Linked DNA regions of Homo sapiens: all the other regions are linked to region 2. Evidence: promoter capture Hi-C in 16 types of primary human blood cells and fetal thymus (Javierre and others, 2016). All regions are on one chromosome and are shown on one strand. The core of a region is centred on a gene start or on the middle of the fragment in contact, and the rest is flanking DNA. Distances in the headings are between cores, read along the strand shown. Region 1 overlaps ADCY2 (adenylate cyclase 2). Region 2 holds the start of TENT4A (terminal nucleotidyltransferase 4A). Region 3 overlaps MTRR (5-methyltetrahydrofolate-homocysteine methyltransferase reductase). Region 4 has its middle 130 kb from the start of ICE1.

Region 1 (7,026 bases), core at 1,410-3,909, 1.0 Mb before region 2:
CTCTATACCCATGGAAAAACAACTCCCCGTTCCTCCCTCCTCCCAGCCCCCGGCAACCACCATTCCCCTTCCTGTTTCCATGACTGTGACTATTCTAAGACCTCCTATAAGTGGAACCATCTAGTAGTTCTCCTTTTGTGACTGGCTTATTTCTTTCAGCATAATGTCACCAGAGATCACGATGTTGTAGCATTATGCCAAGATTTCCTTCTTTTTTAAAGCTTGAATAAAACTCCATTGTATGGATCTATACTTTTTTTTATCCATTCATAAAATGGACACTGAGTTGCTTCACCTCTTGGCTGTTGTGAATATGCGGCTATACATATCGGGGTTGGGGAAACTTTTTTGATACAAGAAGGAATTGAGATCTTTGGGGAACGACAGCCAGCATTTGCTCCCCATTCACCATGGGGTCTCAGTGCATAAGCTCACCCATCTTGAGGGCCACCTTTCCAAGGATTCTCACCATATTCTCCCAGGTATGAGTGTGGAGCAGTACACAGAGTTCCACTGAACTGTGGGTGACATCAACTCTGCCTATGCAGATGCTGCGTGGGCATAATTTGCATACGTTATCTGATATGAGAAGCAGGAAGTAAAAGTCCTCCAGGGATTGACATTGTTATCTTCACACTAACGGGCCTGTGGTCCCAAGGCTATGTGTCTTGGAAACAAAACAAGGTGATGATTTCAAGAAATTCAGAAGAAGGAATAACATAAATTATGCCCTTTGATCGATACTACCAAGTTAACCTATTGGCAAACAAAGCTGGTGTGACATCAGTGAAATTCAAATTCAAATAAAGAATATTCCTGAACAGCACAAATAGGCTGCGCTTTCAGTTCTCTACTTCTTTCACATCTTATTTTTGTATTGTTCCTAAAATTATTGTTGCCCTAAGCATTGCTGTATGTTCAATGTTGATACAACAGTTGAATGATCGTCTAAACACAGGAGAGAGGAGTTGAGAAGGTTAAAGAATCAGCCATGGCCTAGCTTCAAACCTCTACTGCTGGGAAACTTGCGCAAATTAATGATCCTCTCTGAAATGGGGTCCCAGTTTCTTCCTCTCTGAAACGGGGATAATAACAGTACCTGCCTCCTCTGTCTTTGCAGAGGTTTAAACGAGTTAGAGAAGGTGCGTGCAACAGGACTTACAAGTGTTAGCTCTTCCTGTTATTTCAATGAAGAAAACACAATGTTTCTTAGAAACATTTTAGTGACCAAAATCCTATTTCCTTTATATCTATGTAAACAACAACAAAATCTCCTCCTCTCTACTCCTTTCCACCATGTTTTTTTTTTTCTTCCTTCCAGCTCCTGATAGGAAAAGATGAACAATGTTTGTGTACAGCGCACATGCCCCCCTGAGGGAGACGCAGGACCAGGTTCCGGGTTCACTTCTTGGGCTGATTTTCCTGCGCCCTCGTCTCATTTCTCTGAGTACCTACCAGGGAGCTTGAGCCACTGCTGCCCTCAGCCGCACAGGCTGCCCAGAGCTGGACTGCTGACTGGCGGCAGGGGGCGCCCTCGGCCCAGCTCTGCAGGACATCTGATCACCGGCAACAGAAGAACCAGATCTGTACTTGACGCTTCTACTTAAGAGCAGGTTTGGATAGGGGTTGGTGATGGCAGGAAATCTGTCATGCAGCAAGATGTCCCTTAATGCTCTGAACATGCAGCATCTTAGAGGGTCAGGTAGCCAGAGAACATCCACCCACGAATGGTTATCATTATTGTTTAATGCATGCTACTTCTAATAATACTAATATCACAAAACACAGTCAGATCTGTGTTCCGTAGAAGAAGGTTTTTTGTTTTGTTTTGTTTTGTTTTTTCTTTTTTTTTTTCCTGAGACGGAGTCTTGCTCTCTCACCACTCAGGCTGGAGTTCAATGGCACGATCTCTGCTCACTGCAACCTCCGCCTCCTAGGTTCAAGCGATTCTCCTGTCTCAGCCTCCTGAGTAGCTGAGTTTTTTTTGTTTGTTTGTTTTGTTTTTTGCCATTACCTTTAAACCGCAACTACTTTTGCACCAACCTATAATACAATATGAAGAGCCGAGCTTCAAATGAAATATTATGCTCATCTAGCTCAGATTCCATTAGATAATGGCATTTGGTTTGATTCTCACAAATTAAGACAGTATTTATATATTCACATCCAGATTGACTACAGTTAGTACCTTTAAGAGAAAATTATTAAAATCAATGCTCTTATATTTGTGAAATTATGATAATTTCTGTACACAGAAATTATCAATAGATATGATAATGAAAATGTTAACAGTAGAACATTTAAAAAGTTTATTACTTCAGGGGAAAATGTACATCTAGCTAAGATTGCATATCACTGTCAATTAGGTAAAATATTAGCTAGTTATTACACAGACAAATTTTTGAAATTACAAAATTAAAACAAGTTACTGTGTTTGAAGATTTAGAAAAATACGTGGTGATAATCTTGTCAAATATGCTAATCTAATAGGAATATGTTATATTCTGCTCATAGGCTAGTAACTTACTAAAACAGACCCGGGCAGATATGCAGGAATTTTTTTCTGTTCGTGTGACATGCCAGGCAAAATGACGAATCGGCAGCACTTGCAGCTACTTACTAGACGCATGGGGGTTTGGCAGACATGGGTTTGGCACAACAGGTTCAGGATGCGCTTGGTTCAATTATTCACCCATGCATTTTCCATGCATACCTCAAAGTTCTCCCTCACAATTGTTTTAAAACTTATGCCAAATGTGTTGTTCCAGAGGTCAGGGAGACAGGCGGTATCTTTCCTTGTCACCAAGCAGTGACAAGGTAAGTAAACCTGTTCTGAAGTGTAAAAATTGGTAGGCATTGCTGCTGGCAAGGACAAGAAAGTAGAAGAGAACAGAGAGGTGACAGTTGCAATGACAGGGATGAAAGAGGAAGTGGAGGATCAAGCTGGTGGGGGGAGCAGAAGAAACCAATGATGGGGATAAGAGGAGAAACAGGACTAAGATTCTAAAATGGAAGGAACCTGATTAAGAAAAATGGAGACCCTTGATTCAGTGTGTAGCTCTGTAGAAAAATTACAACTTGGCTCTTGATATGATCATTGGCTTCAGTTTATCCTGTTTTTGATTAAGTATTAAAGGCTCTGGTGGAAAAATGTTTATCAAAATTCCGACCATCCTAATTAAATGTTATAAATGACAACATCTCAAAAAATATTTTGGCCTTTATTTGGAAGATACTATTCAACTGAAAATGAGAAAATGCCTGCTGTGAGCCCAGTCAGTGGAGTCATTTTCTTTGATCTTTGGTTTAACTCCTGGCATAATTTCAACCACATCTGTTTCCTCCCTTCCTTGATCATCTCACTGAACCCCATGATCGGCTCTTACTTACAGTGAGCTCACCGTGTACCTTCTAGAAATGCACTTGGATGTGAATATCACATTCATCCATTAACAAACAAGGGATTGATACTAAATGCAGTGGGAGATGTAATAAAAGAAGAAATATATAGGAAAATCCTAGCCAGGCACTGTGGCTCACGCCTGTAATCCCAGCACTTTGGGAGGCTGAGATGGGCAGATCATGAGGTCAGGAGTTTGAGACTATCCTGGCCAACATGGTGAAACCCTGTCTCTACTAAAAAGACAAAAATAAGCTGGGTGTGGTGGCGGGTGCCTGTAATCCCAGCTACTAAGGAGGCTGAAGCAGGAAAACTGCTTGAACCCGGGAGGCAGAGGTTGCAGTGAGCTGAGATTGCACTACTGTACTCCAGCCTGAGTGACAGAGCAAGACTGTGTCTCAGAAAAAAAAAAAAAAAAAAAAGGAAAATCCTATCATAGAATTGATGATGGGGACAACGAGCAGTGGGGTGTGGTAGGAAAAACGTGGGATGAATCCCAATGTTCTTAATCCAGTACATGCAGATCTTCCTCAGAAAAACAAAATGTTCATACATGCTCCACCAAAAATATCAGCCAGCTTCTCTTCCTTCCCTCTCTCTTTCCTTTTTTTTTTCTTCCCTTGTTTTGATCCACTTGCAATGGAAACAACTGGTAGTCTCTCAAATTAAGTTAAATCTAAATTTTTCACTCTAAAATTAATTCTTCATAATTTAACTTAATCATTATAAAAGTAGACTTCATTTACAGTTTCATTAGTTTCCATTTTAACAATAAGATGAGACACTTGAAGAGAAGTAGAAGCTCATATTAAGTGAACTTAATAAAATGAAAAAAAAAATCCAGAAAAGTTATAAAGATATCAGAGTGGCTGAGAAGCAAACTTTTATTATTAGAAAAACGAAATCCATCTTAAAAATCTTGCTTGGAAAATATAGTGGTTTCATGTTTCATATAAACATGTACTTTTGTGTATTTGCCTAAAGGAACATCTACTTTGGCATTTTAATTAGCTGAGGACCGTCATTCTGAATGGCAGGAATAAGCCGGAGCAATAATTACTTGTAACATTTAATGTCACAAAGACTGTGATGTGTACTTTGATTATTTAATTGTCCTTTAATTTCCCATAGGAAGACTTCTTTATGCCAATCAATCATATTTTACAAAATCAACCTGTTTCTTCTTTTCGCCCTGGGTGAGCCACATCCCTGCACTGTTGCTCCACTGGGTACCACATTGCATCATTTTTGCTGACATGCTTGTCTCTGGCCAAATGCAGAGGTGGTTGAGGACAGTGACCATATCGCACTTGTCTCTGTTTTCCCAGAGGCCAGTATAGTGTTTGTTAAATGGTAGGAACTCGTCAAATACGTGTTGATTCTGTTTACTATTTTTAATGATGGACTCAAAGGGAAATTACCAGGGCACAGAAACAAAGAGAGAGCTCAGTGATAAAGGAACTGAGGCTGTGGGGTGGGTCCAGGAGTGTCCTGGATCAGGACTCAGGCTATGGCACTTAGGGGGTGAGCTTTTAACACCCATAGGGAAAAGAAGATATTTCCTTGGGCCAGCCAAACGTGGACAGCTGCAACTAAGACTCTTGAATAAAATCCAGAGCCTCAAACTGCTATACTTTCTGTACAAAGAAGTCTAGAAGAGCCCCATTCACTAGCTCAGGGAAGTGTCAATAAGCTTCCAAGGATCAATCCAAACCCTAAAGTGTTGGGTTTGAAATCACATTACCTGATTCATAATAAGAATTCCAAATTGAAGGGTTGTTAATTAGGTCAAAACCAGAGAAAATCCTTGGGGCTATGGCAGAAGCAAGAATGACACTGCTGGTAAATGATACTTTAGACTACAGTGTGCAGGGATGTCCCATCTGGGGGCTGGGGCAGTTCCTCCTGAACATAACCTCACAATAAAAACCAAATTATAAAGTACCTAAGGCAATGGACCATATGAGGAAGAATCAAAAGACATTAGAGGTAGTCGAATTAGCACCACGAGATCTGCAGATACGACAACAACCTGAAATAGCTTCTAAATTAAGATTAAAGTAACAAAAGAGGGATTATAATCCATATGAATGAGTGAGTTGTTAAGGAAAAATAACAAGTATTTTTTAAAATGAGCCACATAAACTTTCTAGAGATGAAAATGTAGATATTGAAATTAAAAACTAAATGGTTATTGAGGAACTGGATGAACTGCCCGTGAATGGGAGAGGCTATGAAACATCTCAGGAAATAAACCACAAAATAGCACAGAAAGATAAAGAAGTGGAAAATAGGAAAAAGAGACTGAGACACAGAGGATATGATGAAGAGATTCAACATACCTCTGATAAAAGTTTGAAAAAAGCAGAACAGAAAGACCAGGGAAGAGACAAAACACAAGGAGATATTGGACAATGACGTTGCAGACCTAGAGCGGATTATGAGGTCTGTGGTAGAGAATACACAGCTGAGTCTCAAAAATAAAAGTCAGGCTGCACTTTGACACCTGGAATCTACTGCCCATGATACAAAGAGCAAATCCTACAAAAACTCCCACCGAGACAAGGGACCAAGTGTCTACAACAGTTAGATGGACAGGAGAGTTAATCTCATTCCCACAGAGGCCAGGAAATTATGGAATCCTGTTTTTAGAATGTTAGAAAAAATTATAAATAATCACAATGGGGAAAAGATAAAGACTTTTTAAAATACAAAATCTGAGTGGGTATATTATATACAAACCCTCATGGGAAGGATTATAAAAGGAAGCATTTTAGTAATATGGAAACTGAGTCCAGAAAGGTGGAATGGTATTTGGAAAAAATAGTAAACAAATACATTGTTTAACAAAAACAGGAATAAACATTGAATAATTTGAGCAGTTTAAGTTTAGAAAAATTTAAACCATGCTAGTATGGAAGATGAGAAAAATTACCAGACTCAGAGCATGGTCCCTGTATTGTTCAACAAGAAAGTGGAGATATTATTAATAATATACTTTGTTAATCATGTGTACATGTTACGGTTTTAAGGTAATAACTGAAAAAACAAACTAGAGTATATAAGTTCCAAGTCACTAGAGAGAATAAAAGAGAATAAACTCCAGGAGTCCAAAAGAAGGCAGAAAAGAAGGAAAAACAAGTAGAAGCAAAAAGATACAAATTGGGTTTTAAAAGATTTTAGTAATAATTATAATACAGGTAAATGGATCACACTTGTCAAATAAGAGAGAGAGATGTTTGGATCAGAGAAAAGGACATAGAGCTACATGCTGTTCACCAGAGACACACCTAAAACCTATATCCTTTTCATTGACAAGGAAAAGCTGAAAGTAGAAAGATGGAACAAGGAACACCAGGCAAATACTAACCAAAAATAAAATATGGTGGAGGGATATTGACAGGAAAGAAAACAGACTTCAAGGGAAAAACACTGCTGTGGGGTAGAAAGCTTTTCTATTAGCTGTGTGACCTACTTTCCCTTTCCCGAGGCGACCTCTCTATTTGCGCTTTTATCTCTGCCTGGAAGAACGTTGGTGGGCTGGCATCGTATTATCTCTGCTATTGAAAGCACAAGGTAACAACACTGAGAGAAAAATTTCTTCTGATATTTTCTGGCATTTTCAT
Region 2 (6,494 bases), core at 2,476-4,975:
GACAGAACTATTTATTGATACAAAAAGGTTAGTTTATATAGGACCAACAGGCCATGTGGAAATGATCACAGGGGGGACCTTACCTCCTCTAGCCACAGGCCCAACTCTACCACAGCTTAGGTTTGCTTCTGAAAGAGTAGCTGGAATAGCAGCCCAAGCAGAGGTCACCGTGCCCTTCTGGGCACAGAGCAGGTGGTCCTCACAGGCCCCTTTGGGCAGAGACGGCAGGAAGCGGATGCACCCAAGGCCATACTGGAGGCATGGTACACACCACCCAGAGACAGGCAAGGAGAGGTCTCCAGCAAAGGGGAAAAGGAAAGTTCCAAGAGCATGACTGCAGTATCAAACCAGACCTCCTGGTGGGCTTCAGAGCCCTCTCATGCCCTACACCATACTGCCTTACAGCTAGGTTCTAACGGGTTGGCAAGGGGTGGGGCCAGGAGCCAGGACCTAGGGGCATCTGAGCAGCAGAGCCCTGGAGGTGTTGCTGAGTTTTAGGCTTTAGTCTTTAATGTGGGGGATTGGAGATGGGGGAGGTGACATCACAGGGTGAAGGGGAATCTGACCAGACCTGCTGGCAGAGAAGATTGCCCCATTACCTGTGATGGGAAAGGACTCAAGCAGGACCAGAGTGCATCAAAGGCACCTCCGGCTGCTTGAGCAATCTCCACAGAAGTAACAAGAGCCTGCATGAGGGAGGATGAGGTGTGGAGAGATTAAAAGGGCCAAACGAACAGCATGTGATGAGAGACTGGACGTGGGTGACGAAGAGCGTGAGAGGGGACCTGCACAACTGAGCAGGGTACTCTTGTGCTCTAGGCAGGGGGCACTTGCAGGCAGGTTTCAGGGTGGGTCAAGATCATGAGACTGTGTCTCCCATGCCGTCCCTGCCCCAGATCCCCAGATCCTAGCACAGCACCTGATCCTAGTGGGCTCATTCACTAACAAAAGCAACACCACCTACTGAGCCTGACTAGAGTTACCTGGAGGAAACAGCTCGGGGAGCCCAAGTGAGGTGCATGGGACCTGATGCGCTACCACTTTCTAAGAGCAGAGGTACAACCCAAGACTGGCAGAGACCACGTGTCTTCCTGTTTTTTCTAGTGCTAAGAGAAACGGAGTCCATTCCAGTTACATAACAGGCTGGAAACCTAAAGGTCCTCCCCAAGCGAGCCCTTAGGTATATATTGCTATTCATCAAGAAGAAACTGCTCCCAACCACCTGCTCTCAGAAAGTTCTACAGGTAAGAACTGGAGGGAGAGAAGAGGAGTCTGCGCTCCTGCCGGCGTCTGCACTGCATGTTTACACTTCGGGAAATTTAGAAGGTATCGCTTGTAGCCCAAGCCAGGTGAAATAAGTTACAGAACATGCAGCTATTACAGTGTATCACACGCTTTAAAGAAGTATCAACTCGTGTTTCCCAACATACTTCAAATGAGAAAAAGAGTTACAAGCAAAAGTTTACTATAAGAACTCCCAACACCTAGCAATTGTGGTTATTTGTAGGACTCTACTGCATGCAACAACCCTCATACCCCAGCAAATCCTTAATTGTTTTTTAAATTGGGGGGAAAAATTGTGCAAGGAAAAATTATCATTTAAGTCTTAAAATACTGACATACAACCTACACATAAATTGCTTCCAGACGCTCAGAAAAGCCCAAAATGGCAAAGGGGCTGCGTCAACAGCATCACACCTGAACAGCCTCACCTGGGACAATTCCAACCCCGAAACACACACCACCTTTCGTTTCATTCCTTGCCGTCTGTAAGTGCACTAAATTTAAGTAGAGCCTCTAATTCCCTCTAGGCGGATGTAGAAATATTTAAAATAAAAATGGCACCTTCCAAAGAATAGACATATATGACAAATCTGGTTTTTTCTTTGAATTAAGCCAATGTTTATAAACCATAGGCGATGCTTATGGTAATTGCAGCACAAAATTAAAGGACACAACACCCCCCAAAAAATGAATCACCTCTAAGTTGACAGTTAAATTTTTTTAAAAAATGAAATTAAAAAGGTTAATATTTACCTTCGACGTGATTCGAGTTCCTGGCAATGCTAAATTATTCTGCAACTTAACTTACGTGAAACTCCACACTTATCTACGCCCCACTTTGACAAGGGGTTCCTCACTTGCCCGGAGGCGGGGTGGAGGGGTAGAGAGTCGATTTCCCGTTCCAATCTCAAGAGTAAAAAAGACAAATACCTGCAGGTCCTACCCAGCAGCCCCTTTTCTTGGACTGTTACTTGTAGGATCTGGGCAAGTCACTCCACGATAAATGAGTCTGATGTTTAAAAAAAAAACTTTCAGTGCAGAGTCGGGCCTTGGCCTTAGCCTTCAACATCCATCCTCCAAAAGCCCGGGCGCCTGGGACGGGTGTCTGCACCGCGGGCGCCGGCCAGGACCATGGGCCCCGCCCCCGCCCCCGCGGCCTCCCCGCGCACTCACCCCTGGATGCCCGGGCTGTACGCGCGGCTCTTCCACGGGGTGCCGGGCCGCGGCGCCTGGGCCCCGGGGCCGCCCCCTCCGCTGAGAGCGGCCGCGCGGCTGCCGGACAGCAGGTAGTTGAGGCCGTAGGTGCTGGCCTTGTTCTCGCGTTTCCGGCGACCCGGGTGGAACTGGTGCTGCGACGGGGAGCCGGCGGGCGCGGGGCCGCGCGGCCCGGGGTGCCCGTTGGCTGTGCCAGGGGCGCTGGGCGCGCCGTCGGCGAAGTTGAAGAAGGCGCCGCCGCGGCCGCCGCCCGGCCGGCCCAGCGAGGCGCTGCTGGAGGACGACGACGAGCAGCCGGGGCTCTCGGTGCCCGACTCCGCGTTGGACGAGGAGGACGACGACGAGGACGACAGCGACGGCGACTTGTGCAAGCGCCGCGCGCCCTCGGCCGCGGGCCCCAGCGCCGTCAGCAGCGCGGGGGGCAGCGCGGCGGGCGCGGTGGGGCCGGGCGGCGGGGGCGACGCGGCGGGCAGCGCGGGGCCCAGGCCGCCACTGCCCCGCCCGGCCGCCCCCGCCGCGGCCGCCGTGTCCAGCGCCGGCGAGTTGAGGCAGAAATAGGACGCGAAGCCCGAGCCGCCGCGGCCCACGCCCTGCGAGGTCTCCCAGATCTGCATCCACAGGGCATTGGCCGGCCCCTTCTGCTCGGGCTGGATCCAGGCCACGCGCGGATCCATCCACGCGCCGCCCCCGCGGGGCCCGCGCGCCCGCCCGCCCCGACGCGGCCCCGCCCCCGCCGCGCCCCGAGGCCCGGCCGCGCGCGCACGGACGGACGGACGGGCCTGGGCCGGTGGCGGCGGCGGCGGCGGCGGCGGCGGGCGGGCCGAGCCCCGGCCTCCTGCTCTAGCCGCGCTCCCGTCGGGCTCCGGCGTGGGGCGGCGGCGGCGGTGATGGGCCCCGGCAGGCCGCGGCGGGCGGCTCCGGCGCTTGGCGCGTCCCAGCGGGCGGCTGCGGTCTCCGGGCTCCCGCTTCACGCGGCGCGGGGCGGGCGCGGGGGCCGCGGCGGCGGCGGCGTTCCACTCGGGCCGCGGGGAGAGGCCATCGGAGAAGGGCGGGCGGCGGGGCCGAGGGGGCGGGCCCAGGCGCCGAGCGGCTGAAGGACCCGCGGGAGGCGCCGCCGCCCGTGCGGCTAGCCCTCAGTCACGCTCGCGCCGCTGGCTCGGCGCTCCTGCGGCGGCGGCGGCGGCGGCGGTGAAAAGACACTCTCGGCGGCGACAGCGCGGGGGAAGGAGGGGGCCGCCGCCGCGTCCGCTCCAATGAGGGGCGGGGGAGGGGGCGGGGACGGGGGCGGCAGGAGGAAGCGCGGCCTCGGTCGCCGGGCCGTGTCGCCGGTGCGCACGCGCGACCGATTTCAAATCCTCACTAGACACTGCCGCCGTGGTTACCGCGCCTGCGCGTTGGGGCCCCGTCGGCCGCGGGCGGGGTGAGGACGGCGTCAGAAGCTACGCGACTGGGAGGGGCTGGAGGGAGAGGCGGTGGCGTTGAGCCATTACTGACTAGGCCGGCGTTGGGTGGAATAGGCAGCGGCTGGAAGGCCCGCACGCCGCCCTCGGCCCGCCGCGGCGCGCAGACCCCGGCGTGCAGACATGCGCGCTAGGGCCGGTGTCACCGGGCTGCCGCCTGAGCCGCGCTGCGCGTGCGCAGGGCAGCGTGGCCGTCACCGCCGCCGGTGGAAGTTTCCGAGCAGCCGGGCGGGGGCAGCGGACGCCACCGCAGGCGCTTCCCCCGCCGGCCGGCCCTCCCTCCTGACGTAAGGGCGGGCCCCGGTCGCAGATCCCGCCCCAGGTCTCTCATCCGAGGGTCCGTGCAGCAGGTCACGCTGCGCTCTCTGGGGTCCGCGCGTCGGCCCACGTGCTCCCTGCACCTCGCGGGGTGAGCGGCCAGCGTGCCGTGCCGGGTGGCTGGCTCCGCCGCTCCGGAGCCGGGAAGGACACGCGGCAGAGTCCTGCTCCCTAGCGGGTCTGCTTACAGGCGTTTGGTTTGCTTTTTAAAATGATTTTCTATGCGAAAAGTGAAGTGAAAACTTCCAAGTTAATTCCCTGGGCAAAATGGGCAGTGCTAGCCGAGGAACGGCTGGTGGGCGGCGCGTCCGGCCCCCGGCTTCGGTTTTTCCAGCTGCACCGAGCGGGCAGGAGTCAGTGGGAAACCGCCCGCCATCCACAGCCTGCCGTTTGCCATCCCGGTGTCCCGAGCGCGATGGAAGCCGGGTTGACAGTGGCACTGTTTGGAATACAGCGCCAACCACACATCCTGTGAGGTCCAAAGCAAACGCCAGTGTCGTTGATCATCGCGGTGCCCCGCGAGCCTGGGCGACGTGAGGCCCCGCGGCTGCCGCCCTGTCTTCAGGCGGAGTCCCCGCAAATGCACTCCCGGGCCAGGGCCCTGAAGCTGCCTTAGCCCAGTGGCGCCCGGGCTCCAAGCCTTTTAAGTAGAACGGGACCTGGCCTTCGTACAGGCGTGTTGTAAATGCTACCCCCTCGTCTCCAGCACAGATGAGTAGACATTACTAAGCACTTGACCCTTCAAACATCGCCCCAACAGGAAAGGTCCGTGTGTTGCATACAAAGGCTTTGGGGCAAGTGGTGGTGGTTAGTAATGAAAATGAATGTTTCAGACGTTTTCAAATACCTTCATATTGTACACGTGGAAATCATGACCAAGGATTAGAACGTGCATTCAGTAAACTACAGAAAATCACACACAAGTCAAACGGCCGTTATTCTGGAGCTGTTTGCTTCCAATGGCTCAGTCCAAAATCCTTGGTCATGCCTGGCTCCTCTCTCTGTCCACAATGAACACATCCTCTTGGCTCCACTGCCCGAAACAACCAGAACCCAACTGCTACCCCTCCTCCTCCCTCCACCCCTCTTTCCCCGCCACCCGTCCATTTTAAAGCAGTGCCTTCTAGCTGGTTTCCCACATTCTGCACAGCTGCTCGTGTGATCCTTTTTAAAAAACAAAAAAGATGTTACTATTTTAAAAATCATCTCATGCCACTCTTAGAATACTATGCAGCCGTAAAAAGGAATGAGATCATGACCTTTGTGGGGACATGAATGGAGGTGGAAGCCACTATCCTCAGCAAACTAACACAGGAACAGAAAACCAAACACCGCATGTTCTCAGTAATAAGGGGGAGCTGAGCAATGAGAATGCATCGACACAGGGAGGGGAACAACACACACCGGGACCTGTTGGGGGTTAGGGGAAGGGAGAGCATCAGGATAAATAGCTAATGCATGCAGGGCTTAATGCCTAGGTGATGGGTTCACAAGTGCAGCAAACCACCATGGCACACATTTACCTATGTAACAAACCTGCACGTCTTGCACGTGTATCCCAGAATTTAAAGTTGACATTTTAAAAAATTCAGTCCATGCCACTCCTCTGCTCAAAACCCTCCAGTGGCTTTCTCATTCAGCAAAATGGAACAACCTTGCTATGACCTGCAAGTCCCTTATCCCCTGGTCCTTCCCCTCTTCCCCTGCCCTCACCTCCCAGCGCTTTCCCTAGCCCAAACAATACCAGCCAGAAGCACCCCTGGCACACTCCTGCCTCAGGGCCTTTGCACTTGCTGTTCCATCTGCCTGACATGCGTTCCCTCCTCCCCATCTTAGTGAGGACGTCCAAGTGGCTCTTTAGTCTAAACTGCAAACATAACCCTCAGCATCCCGTTTCCCTTCCCCATTTGCTTTTTCTCCCTTAGTTTCCTGGAGCTGAGTAACAAAATGTCACAAACTGGGTGGCTTAAAACAACAAACGCATGCTCTCACAGTCCTAGAGGCTGAACGTCCAAAATCAAGTTGTCAGCAAGGCCGTGTATCCTCTGAAGGCTGTAAGGGAGTGTGCCCCATGCTCTCCTCTCAGCTTCTGGTGTTGCTGGCAAACCGTGGCATTCCTTGGCTTGTTGGTGCATCACCCCACTCTCTGACACGTCATCGCATGACGTTTCCCTGTGTCCTTGATTTGTGGATGCAGCGCTCCACTCTCTGTCATCA
Region 3 (2,700 bases), core at 1-2,500, 1.2 Mb before region 2:
TAAAAAAGGAAGTTCTAGTACAAAGCACAATCTCTACAACATTGTGTTTACTTTTCCCATGGTGACAAATTATGTTATCGCACATTGAATAATAATTTTTTAAATAAAAATTTTACAAAGTCCAATTATCCTCAAAATGACTAAAGAAACAAAAACGGTTACTCAGGAATACATTTTCCCATTAGCCAAAAAAAGAACATACCTATGTTGTAGGAACCCAATAAACGGGGCTATGCCGGTTCCTGGACCCACCATTATGATGGGGATTGAGGGGTCATCTGGTAAGTGGAAAGAATTTGTTGTTCGAGGAGAGATGGATATCTGAAATATTACATCAAATGTGGTAAGTATGAAAGAAAACCTAGGCAAGAGTATATAATCAAGATGATCTTTGCTAAACAAATCAGAAAGGGAAAATTCCCATCAAAGAAACATCACTAAATAGTGGCATCAGATTTTATTGAAACCATGAGCACATTTGTCACTACAGAAAGAAGTTTGTCTTGCAAATTTTTCTTTTCTATTCAAATAAAAAATGTTGTAAAAAATGATAGGCATGGTGTCTTTGAGGTAGAACTCTAAATAGATAATCAAATCATGTTTCTTGGTCTATGGATAAGATCTGCTTTCTGGTGGGCAGACAATAGCATATATTATGGAGAAATGTACCCTAAATATGAAGACAATAAAGATTAGCATCACGATGAGGTTGAAAAATTTTAAATAAAAGTCAGGCACCTTAAAAAGAAATTGAGGGGCTGCTCCAAATATTCCAGATAATGGTGCTGTATTTGCTATTCTGGGTCCAATATTACCCAGAATTATTTTTGTTATAACTAAACAAATCATATAATTATCAAAATCTTTTTGTTAAAATTTCAAAAGATATTTCTGAATCAATCTGAGTATGTTTCACTTCCAGTTTCACTGTCATATGCAAAAGTCATACTGATACCAAGATTTAAGAATGACAGGATTCCCCTCCACCTTGCATGGTGGTGTAACTGTATACATTTTAACTTTTAACTCAAGGACGACTGTAGGAAGTAATGACGAGCCTGAACACCATACCTTTTAAATGAAGGAATGGCAAAGCTGTGTCTCATTACTGCTCTTACTTGGGAATGAAACTAGTTAACATTACATTAGCCTTCTTTGCTTCATTCATTTAACAGATTTACTGAAAGTATTCACCATGACAGGCATTAAGGATACAGAAATGAACAAAACAACGCCCCTGTCTTTACGGAACTTACATTCTAGTGGAAGGAAAAGAAAATAAACATACACATTATCACATATATCCACAGAATGATGGGTAATGACTTCCCAATGTCTTAGGAAGCAAAATTACACAGGATAAGGAAATGATGGGTGTGGCAGTGAGCTGCTAATTCAAACACCAATGTCAAAGAAGGCCCATGTCTACAATGAGACCTTTGACCACGATCTGAATCAAGGGAGTTAGCCATGCCAGAGCATATTCCTGGCAGAAAAGAAAAACACATGTACAAAGATCCTGTGACAACAGCACACTTTCTACGTTCTGGGGCTCTCTTCCTCGAAGGCTGTGGGACTGCTTCACTTGAGGGTCTATGTGGAGAGAATATCATGGCAGATAGGAAGAAGAGAGCCAAGCTACACCACGCCCACAGGCTTAGTGCTCCTGCTTAGATGTGGCAGATGTCCTTCTGTTCACACAGCCAGGCTGAACATCAGTGGCAGGGTTAATCTGTGAATAACTGTACTATCCGCCATAGTAGGGCAGGGTGGGTGATAGGTCTTGCAAAAGTCAACATTCTGTATAATTTGTAATAAAACACAACACAAGCACAGGTAATTTCAGATAGTTTTAAATTATATCCTTCATATCTGCACTTCTACTGCATATAGATTGGATAGTTAATAAAAATCTGTTAAAATGGGGAAGGAAGGACGAAGAGAGGGAGGGAGGAAAGGAGGAGTAGGTGAAAGGCACCCATGTTTAGTGTTTACGATACATGATGGACACACATTGTTTTTAATGTTCTGGAGATCATCTGCTATCTTTATACAATCACCAAGTGACATATACTTGTATATCAGTACTATAATATTTCTTCTCAAAAAAGAAAGTTTCTGTAAGGTTCCTAATATTTTGATGTATAATGAATACATGATGTATAGAGAACACAATAAAGCATCTCTCTGTTCCAGGCAGCAGACTGGAAAAACATCAAGTTAAACGGCAATTTCAAGCAGCAATCATCCCTTATCCTCTCAAGTATATCCCAAGAAGTCCTAATCCCCACTATTGAGGTCTATGAACCTTTCAACTCTAATAAAGAAACCAAACTTCTCCTAAGACAACACTCCAAGTGAATCACTGATTTCTTCATTACTATGAAGAAAGAGGACTTCATGATAAAGCCTGAAATGTTGCTTTATTTCAACCATTCTTGTGGACAACTTTAAACTGTTGCCTACACACGTGGTCTCGAAATTCTGCTGAGTGCCGTATCAAAACATAAAAAGATGTCACTGAGTCCAAGTGTAAAGTGTCCACAATCTGTTGAGAAAATCACATAACCTTTTACTCCTAGGTGTTGTAAAAGTATTTACAGCCATATGTCTTCTCAATAATGGCACAAGTTCAGATGTCAGACACCACAGATAACAAAAGCAGAAAAACAGGGATGCGGGGACCCTACTAGCCAAAAT
Region 4 (7,277 bases), core at 4,439-6,938, 1.2 Mb after region 2:
ATCTCATCTCGAATTGTAATCCGCATGTTTCAAGGGTGGAACCTGGTGGGAGGTGACTGAATCACAGGAACAGTTTCCGCCATTGCTGTTCTTATGACCGTGAGTGAGTTCTCACCAGAGCTCGTGGTTTATAAGTGGTTGGCAGCTCCCCCTTCTCCCTCTCTCTCCTGACACCATGTGAAGAAGGTGCTTGCTTGCTTCTCCTTCACCTTCCACCACAACTGTAAGTTTCCTGAGGTCTCCCCAGGCATGCAGAACTGTGAGTCAATTAAACCTCTTTTATTTATAACTTACCCAGTCTCAGGTAGTATCTTTATAGCAATGTGAGAACAGACTAATAATAGAGAATTGGTACCAGCAGAGTGGGGCACTGCTATAAAGATAACCTGAAAATATGGAAGTGACTTTGGAACTGGATGTCCAGGCAGAAGTTTGTTGTAGGGGCAGAACCCTCATGGAGAACCTCTGCTAGGGCAGTGCAGAAGGGAAATGTGGGGTTGGAGCTGCTACACAGAGTCCCCACTGGGGCACTGCCTAGTGGAGCTGTGAAAAGAGGGCCACCAACCTTAAGACGCCAGAAAGGTACATCCACTGACAGCTTGCAGGTAGTATCTTTATGGCAGTGTAAGAATGGACTAATACAAAAGAGCAATCTGTTCAATGTAAGACTTAAGTGAGTAAAAGCATCATATTCTCAACCGTAAACACAGTGTTGGCTGGACACTAACAATGTCATTATTAATGAGCTGGAGTTTATCCAACATTCACAGGTACATAATATATATTCACACAGTGATGGATAAAAGCCCATCAGCTAAGTCAACCATCCTCAAGGACAAGGTGATAGATCCGGGTCAGCAAACTGCAGCCAGTAAACCAAATTCATCCCACCTCCTGTTCTTATAAATAAGGTTTTACTGGAACACAGCCAAGTTCATTCATTGATATATTGCTTATATAATACAAGGCTGCCTTCTTGTTACAATGGCAGCATTGGATAGTTGAGCAGACACTGTATAGTCCACAAAGCCTAAACACTGTGCTGTCTTGTCCTTTACATGAGAAGTGTCCCTACCCCTGTGATAGTGAAGAGATGGTAGATGGCCTACTTTTAGCATGCCTAAAGTTGAGTGGGAATGAGCTACCTTCACCAGCTCGAAAAACCTGGCTGAATTCCTTAAACCAGTTGAGCTTAATTTTCACAATCTCTAAGCAGGTATAATAATACCTATTTCTTTGAGTTTTTGTGAAAATGACATGCAATCATTAATATAGAGTGCGTAACCCAGGCGAGATATCCAGTAACAGTGAGTTTCCTCCTTATCCAGGGGCTTTTTCTCATCTCCAGGAATTCCTTGTGTTCAGAATTCTAACAGAATTTTTGTTCATTATAAGTGCACACACTAATTATTCATCTACAGATGGCTATTTTCCCAATAGTGGTTTTCATGTATCTAAATCATAGTTAAATATCATGGCATAAATTCCAAATCATGCTCTTTTTTATGATTAGGTATTTAGTGTGAGGAGCTAAATTTTAAATGTTGCTTAATGTTATACCCTCAATCCATAGTGATGTGACTGAAGGATCCAGAACCACCCTCGTCCACTCACCCAACCCCTGGTCTTCACTACAGCCTACAGCAGTGGGTGGCCACCATCTGTGGGCTGGTCCTCCATACTCCTGAAGCCAGCAGAGCCCCTGCAGCCCCTGCAGGCCCTGTTCAGGGAGCTTTGCAGCTCTGGGCAGCTTCCATCACACAGAAGGCCTTCAGGCCCACAGACTACTTTGGGAGCGTCAGAAATGAAGTCCCCTGCAGAGAGGTCTTGAGTAAGTCCCAAGCCCTAATTGGTTCCCCATTTTCTCAGTTCCAAATGAGAGGGATTGGTGCCAGAACCTAAGTTTTTCTCTTCACTTAAAGTTTTCATGATTCCATGAGTTCATGTAGTTCTTCTACATTGCTTCGGAAACCATTCTATTATACAGCATTCTTGCATGTGCTCCACAGAGTGTTTTTGACCATTTAAAAATAATACTATGCATTGAGATTTTGGAAAACCATTCCAGTGTTCAATAGTGGGCTACTAGAACACTGTTTCTAATGGCCCACAGAAAATCATGCTCTGCTCACAGAGATTTTCCCCAGGACATGAGCGGCATTAAATGTGAATATGTCTACAAAGGCTTGAGACTCAATAATCTACTCACAAATGAAATACTCATTCACACAAATACATTAGGCAGGGTTCTCCACAGAAACAGACCAATAGGATGTGTAATGTGTGTATACACACACACACACACACACACACACACACATATAGAGATAGAAATAGAGATAGAGGTAGAGATTTATTTTAAGGAGGAATTGCCTCACTCATTTGTAAGTGCTGGCAAGTCTGAAATGTGCAGGGCAGGCCAGTAAGCAGGGGATCCAGGGAGGAGGTGATGTTGCAGCTCAAGTCCAAAGGCAATAGAGAGGTAGAATTCCCTCTTTTTCTGAGAGAGGTCAGTCTTTTCCAACTAAGGCCTCCACTGATTGGATAAGCCCCACCCCTATTATAGCGGGTAATTTACTTCTCTCAGTCTACTGATTTAATGCTTTTTATTAGTTTTTTAATGAGAAAAATCATAATTATATACATTTGTGGGGTGCAATATGATGTTTTGATTTACATATATCATGGAATGATTCGGTCAAACTAATAAACATATTCAACATCTCACTTATCATTTTTATGGTAAGATGTTTGAAATTTACTCTTAGCTATTTTGAAATACACAGTACATTCTTATTGACAATAGTCACCTTGCTGGGCGATAGATCTGGAAAACTTATTCCAAACTTTGCACCCTTTCACCAACATCTCCCCATTCACTTTCCTGCCACTGAGGCTCTGGTGACCACTGTCCTACACTCTCTTTCTATGAGTTTAGCTGTTTTAGATCCCACATATAAGTGAGATCACATAGTACTTGCCTTTCGCTGCCTGGCTTATTTCACTGAGCCTAATGTCCTCCAGGTTCATCCATTTTGTTGCAAATGACAGAATTACCTTCTTCCTTTTTTAAGGCTGAATAATATTCCATTGTGTATGTGCACCACATTGTCTTTCTTCTTGGTCTAATGGAAACTTACATTCATTCAAGAATGAATTAATTCATTCATTCTTGGCTATTGTAAATAAGGCTGCAGTGAACACGGGAGTGCAGATGTCTCTTTTAGATCCTGATTTCAAGTCCTTTGGATAGATACACAGAAGTGGGATTGCTAAATCACATGGTAGTTCTATTTTTAGTTTTTTGAGGCAGTTCCATACTATTTTCCATAATGGCTGCACTCATTTACTCCCCCAGTGACAGTGTACCAGGATTCTCTTTTCTCTGAGTTCTCACCAGTACTTGTGATCTTTCATCTTTTTGATTATAGCCATACTAACATGGGTCAGGTGATATTTCCTCGTGGCTTTAATTTGCATCCCCTTGATGACTGGTGATGTTGAGCATTTTTCATGAATCTATTGGACATCTGTATGTCTTCTTTGGAGAAATGTCTGTTCAGGTCCTTTGCCAACTTTTTAATAGGGTTTTTTGTCATCTTACTGTTGAGGTGTTGAATTCCTTGTATATTTTGGATATTAACTCTTTATCATATGTACGGTTTACAAACATTTTCTACCACACCATACTGTGGGTTGCCTCTTTGTTAATTGTTTCCTTTGCTGTGCAGGGACTTCTACTTTGATCTAATCCTATTTATCTATTTTTTACTTTTGTTGTCTGGGCTTTTGCAGTCATATCCAGAAAATCATTGCCCAGAACAATCTTGTGGAGCTTTCCCCTATTTTCTTCTAGCAGTTTTACAGTTTCAGGAATACTGATTAAATGTGACTCACATCTGAAAAACAGGCTCATAGCAACATTTTGAGGTTGACCAAAAACTGGTTGCCATGATCTAGCCAAATTGACACATAAAATTACCCATCACATACACAGTCATGTGTCACTTGACAACTGGGATATGTTCTGAGACATGGGTCATTTGGTGATTTCATTGTTGTGTGAACATCATACAGTGGACTTACACAAACCTTGATGGTACAGCCCACTACACACCTAGGCTACAGGGAACAGTGTATCACTCCTGGGCTACAAACCTGTACAGCAGGTGACTATACTGAATACTGTAAGCAATTGCAACCCAGTGATAAGCATTTGTGTATTTAAACATATCCAAACATAGAAAAGGTATAGTAAAAATATCGTGTTATAATCTTATGAGCTCATCCTCATGTATGTGGTTTGTTGTTGACTGGAATGTCATTCTGTGGTACATGACATTTATACACATATACAGAGGGAAAACTTATCCAGGGAGTTTGAAATTATCCATCTTCAAGCAAAAAGAAATCCAAAAAAAACCCAAAAACAAATAAAAAGCAGTAAAGAAAGTCTATAAAATGTACTACTTGTCTACCTGCAGGTGATAATAAGTTTGGGTTTCCTTGATTAAAGTGCTATTAAATAAAATCAAAGTAGATAGTGTTGAACATTGCTCATACATGGGGATGAGTCCCTCTCTGCCCCTAAATTGTCTTTTCTAGAAACTGAGGTGATTTTCTTTGCACAAAGTGCTTAAACAAAGCAGTAAGGCGCAAGGCTCAGAAGCACAGGTTTTGGAGTCAGCCCAGCCAGAGTCCACTCCTGGGATCCTCCACAGTCTTCCTGTATAATCTTGGGCAATCAAACTAATCTCCTGGGGCTATTTCCTAATCTGTAAAGTGGACATAGAAAGATGAAATTGCTGAATGATGTGAGAAGTAATCGAGACCTATAAGGAGAGCACTTAATGGCAGTGTCAGGCACACGGTAATGGTCCAGCAAATGACAGCCGTAACAGTGAACCAGCATGGTTTCCAATCATCAGCTGCCATGTGCACTGCAACCAAGGCAGACTTGGATGAGGGCTGTGATGAAACCTGAGCATGAAAGCCATCTTCAAGGAGGAAGGGGTGGTGGTGGCCAGGACTGCAGTTTCTAGGGCAGGTGGGATCACAGGTGGAACCTCCAGGTGGTCCACGCAGTGTCTGAGGCATGACAGTCTCCATGCTGATCTCATAGGCAGTTAATAACAGAAAAACATCAAAGCGGGCAGATGTCCCAATGCTGTGAACATTTCAGAGCAAAAGGATGGCATTGTTATGCGGGCACTATCTTTTTTAGCACGATCACAACCAGGGAGGAGAGGGCTGGTGGGAGAGGGGCAGGGTCTCGGGAGCTTAGCTACATGGGTGGGTCCTAATACTTTCCCGTGCATATGTACAACATTCTTGTGAAATAGATTTATCTAATATGCGGTTAAGATATCGCTATATAGATGACTTCCACCTCTGCTAATATCAGATGAATCCTCCTCAATGTGAACAAGAAGAAAATCTGAGAAAATATTGTTCAAATGTATTTAAAGGTGTCAGAAAGCTAATGTAGTAATAAAAATTTACCCAGCCAAGGTTTGAGAGAAAAATAAAACATAGACAGGTGTTTCTGGCATGTGGGCCAATTTTACCCCTAAAAGCTTCTCTTTATTCTGAAATAAGCTGCAGAACAAGTAAAGATGAACAGAGCCCTTGACAGATTCCCAGAGACAGAGACAGAAACTGGAATTTAAGGCACTTCAGGTACAGACGGTGGCTATGGTAAGCACCTATGATTTAGGCTGGGACATCAAAGAGTTATATTATAGAATTAAGAGCAACCAGAAACACACTGACTCTCAGACAAAATCAGTATCCAAGCTTTGAGCCATGCCGATCCCTGAGGAGTCAAAGTAATCCTGGCCTTCGAACTCCCTAGCCTAGTTACCCTCTGGTAGCCAATTGAAACCCTCTGTGTAGAAAGATGGCATCATCCAGAGACTCAAATTAGCTCTACAAGTTTTCAAATACAATGCCTATGCCCAGTCTAAAATTATTATGCATAAGGAGATAAGAAAAAATTATTTAAAATAAAGAGAAATAGTACACCCATAAGTGAGTCAGATAATGGCATTATCAGATACAGACTTCAAAATAGCAAGGGTTAATACATTTAAGGAAATAAAGGCTACACTGAGAATTCCTGTAGAGAACCAGAAACTGTTTTTCTAAATCCAAGTGGATGTTCTAGGACTGCAATAACAGCATGCTAATGGATTTAAGAGAAAATTATAAAAAGCTAAAGATGAAATTATTAAACTGAGATAGGTCAGAAAGAATTATCCAGACAATGTAATGAGAATTACAGAAAGAACAGAAGAGATGCAGAGATGTGGTAAGATGGTCTACATTACTTATAACTGAATTTCCAGAAACACAAGAGAAAAATAAAGAAGCAAAAAATAATAATTTTCCAAAATTGATGGAAGCCCTCAAGCCACATATTCAAGAAGTTCTACAAACCCCAAACAAGATAAATGCAAAACACCACACCTAGACACAGGATGGAAAAATCCCTAAAAACAAAAGAAAAAGCAAGCAGAGAAAAAAAGAAAATTACTTTCGAAGTGGTCTCCATAAGACTTAAAACAAATGTCTCACTCGAAATGATATAAAAACCAGAAGAGAATAAAAAGATATCTTCAAATTCAAAAAAAAAAACAACAAGATTTTAAATTTAGTTAGGTTCTAGAAAAATATATCTCAAAGACAAAAGTAAAATTAAGACACATTGGGACAAACAAAATTGACAGAATGTGTCAGCATTGGAACCACACTGAAGAAAATGCTCAAGGAAATGTATTCATCTGCTGCTAAAACCTGAAGAAGGAAGAGAGGTGAAGCTTGAAATATGTGAGTAAATCTAAACAGAATTGTTGATTAAAACGACAATAATGCAGAATTAAAATAAATGGCCATAATAATACATAAGGTGGGAGGAAGCTAAATGGAGTTAGGGCAGCCTGAATTTCCTGCACTGAGTGCAAAGGAGTGAACCTGCTTATGTATATTTGACTTGGTAGGTCAAGGACACCTGTTATGTTCTCTTAGCAGGATCACTGGTTTTAGAAGAGTGTATAACGACCGAGTAATGAACCGAATGTCTGTGTCCAAAAAATGTCTGTGTTGAAATCTGAACCCTCAGTGATCTCTAATGAGATGGTACTAGGAGGCGGGCCCTCTGAGAGGTGATTAGATCAGGAGGGTGGAGCCCTCGTGATAAGTGTTCTTATATAAGGAGCACGTCTCTCTCTTCCCCAGCCGCCCAATCTCTCCCTCTGTGAGGGCAGTGCCATGTGAGG

The links. Contacts are between HindIII fragments. The CHiCAGO score rates a contact against its expected background, and 5 or more counts as called.
Region 1: a contact is called between a fragment that was not itself captured here and the fragment with the promoter of TENT4A in region 2, in 2 of 17 cell types (monocytes and M2 macrophages). The highest score is 8.9, in monocytes.
Region 3: a fragment that was not itself captured here is called in contact with the fragment with the promoter of TENT4A in region 2 in 1 of 17 cell types (naive CD8 T cells); the score reaches 5.0 in naive CD8 T cells.
Region 4: a fragment that was not itself captured here is called in contact with the fragment with the promoter of TENT4A in region 2 in 1 of 17 cell types (naive CD8 T cells); the score reaches 5.1 in naive CD8 T cells.

The regions. Positions count from the first base shown.
Region 1 is chr5:7,749,691-7,756,716 of GRCh38, reverse strand. The region is part of intron 15 of ADCY2 (adenylate cyclase 2); the gene reads right to left. Among named protein-coding and RNA genes, the nearest start is that of CFAP90, 98 kb to the left of the region's middle. The HindIII fragment of the contact is 4,872 bases long and covers 224-5,095 here.
Region 2 is chr5:6,710,663-6,717,156 of GRCh38, reverse strand. It overlaps TENT4A (terminal nucleotidyltransferase 4A), which reads right to left and starts at 3,725. Exons shown (of 13, transcript NM_006999.6): 1 at 2,458-3,725. The coding sequence starts at 3,173. RefSeq lists enhancers at 950-1,009, 1,310-1,359, 4,577-4,636 and silencers at 2,357-2,746, 3,117-3,186, 3,487-3,856, 3,967-4,406. The HindIII fragment of the contact is 9,360 bases long and covers 1-6,494 here.
Region 3 is chr5:7,893,355-7,896,054 of GRCh38, reverse strand. MTRR (5-methyltetrahydrofolate-homocysteine methyltransferase reductase) reads right to left here. Exons shown (of 15, transcript NM_002454.3): 12 at 203-321. Among named protein-coding and RNA genes, the nearest start is that of MTRR, 26 kb to the right of the region's middle. The HindIII fragment of the contact is 8,378 bases long and covers 1-2,700 here.
Region 4 is chr5:5,544,198-5,551,474 of GRCh38, reverse strand. No RefSeq gene overlaps it. Among named protein-coding and RNA genes, the nearest start is that of ICE1, 130 kb to the right of the region's middle. The HindIII fragment of the contact is 220 bases long and covers 5,579-5,798 here.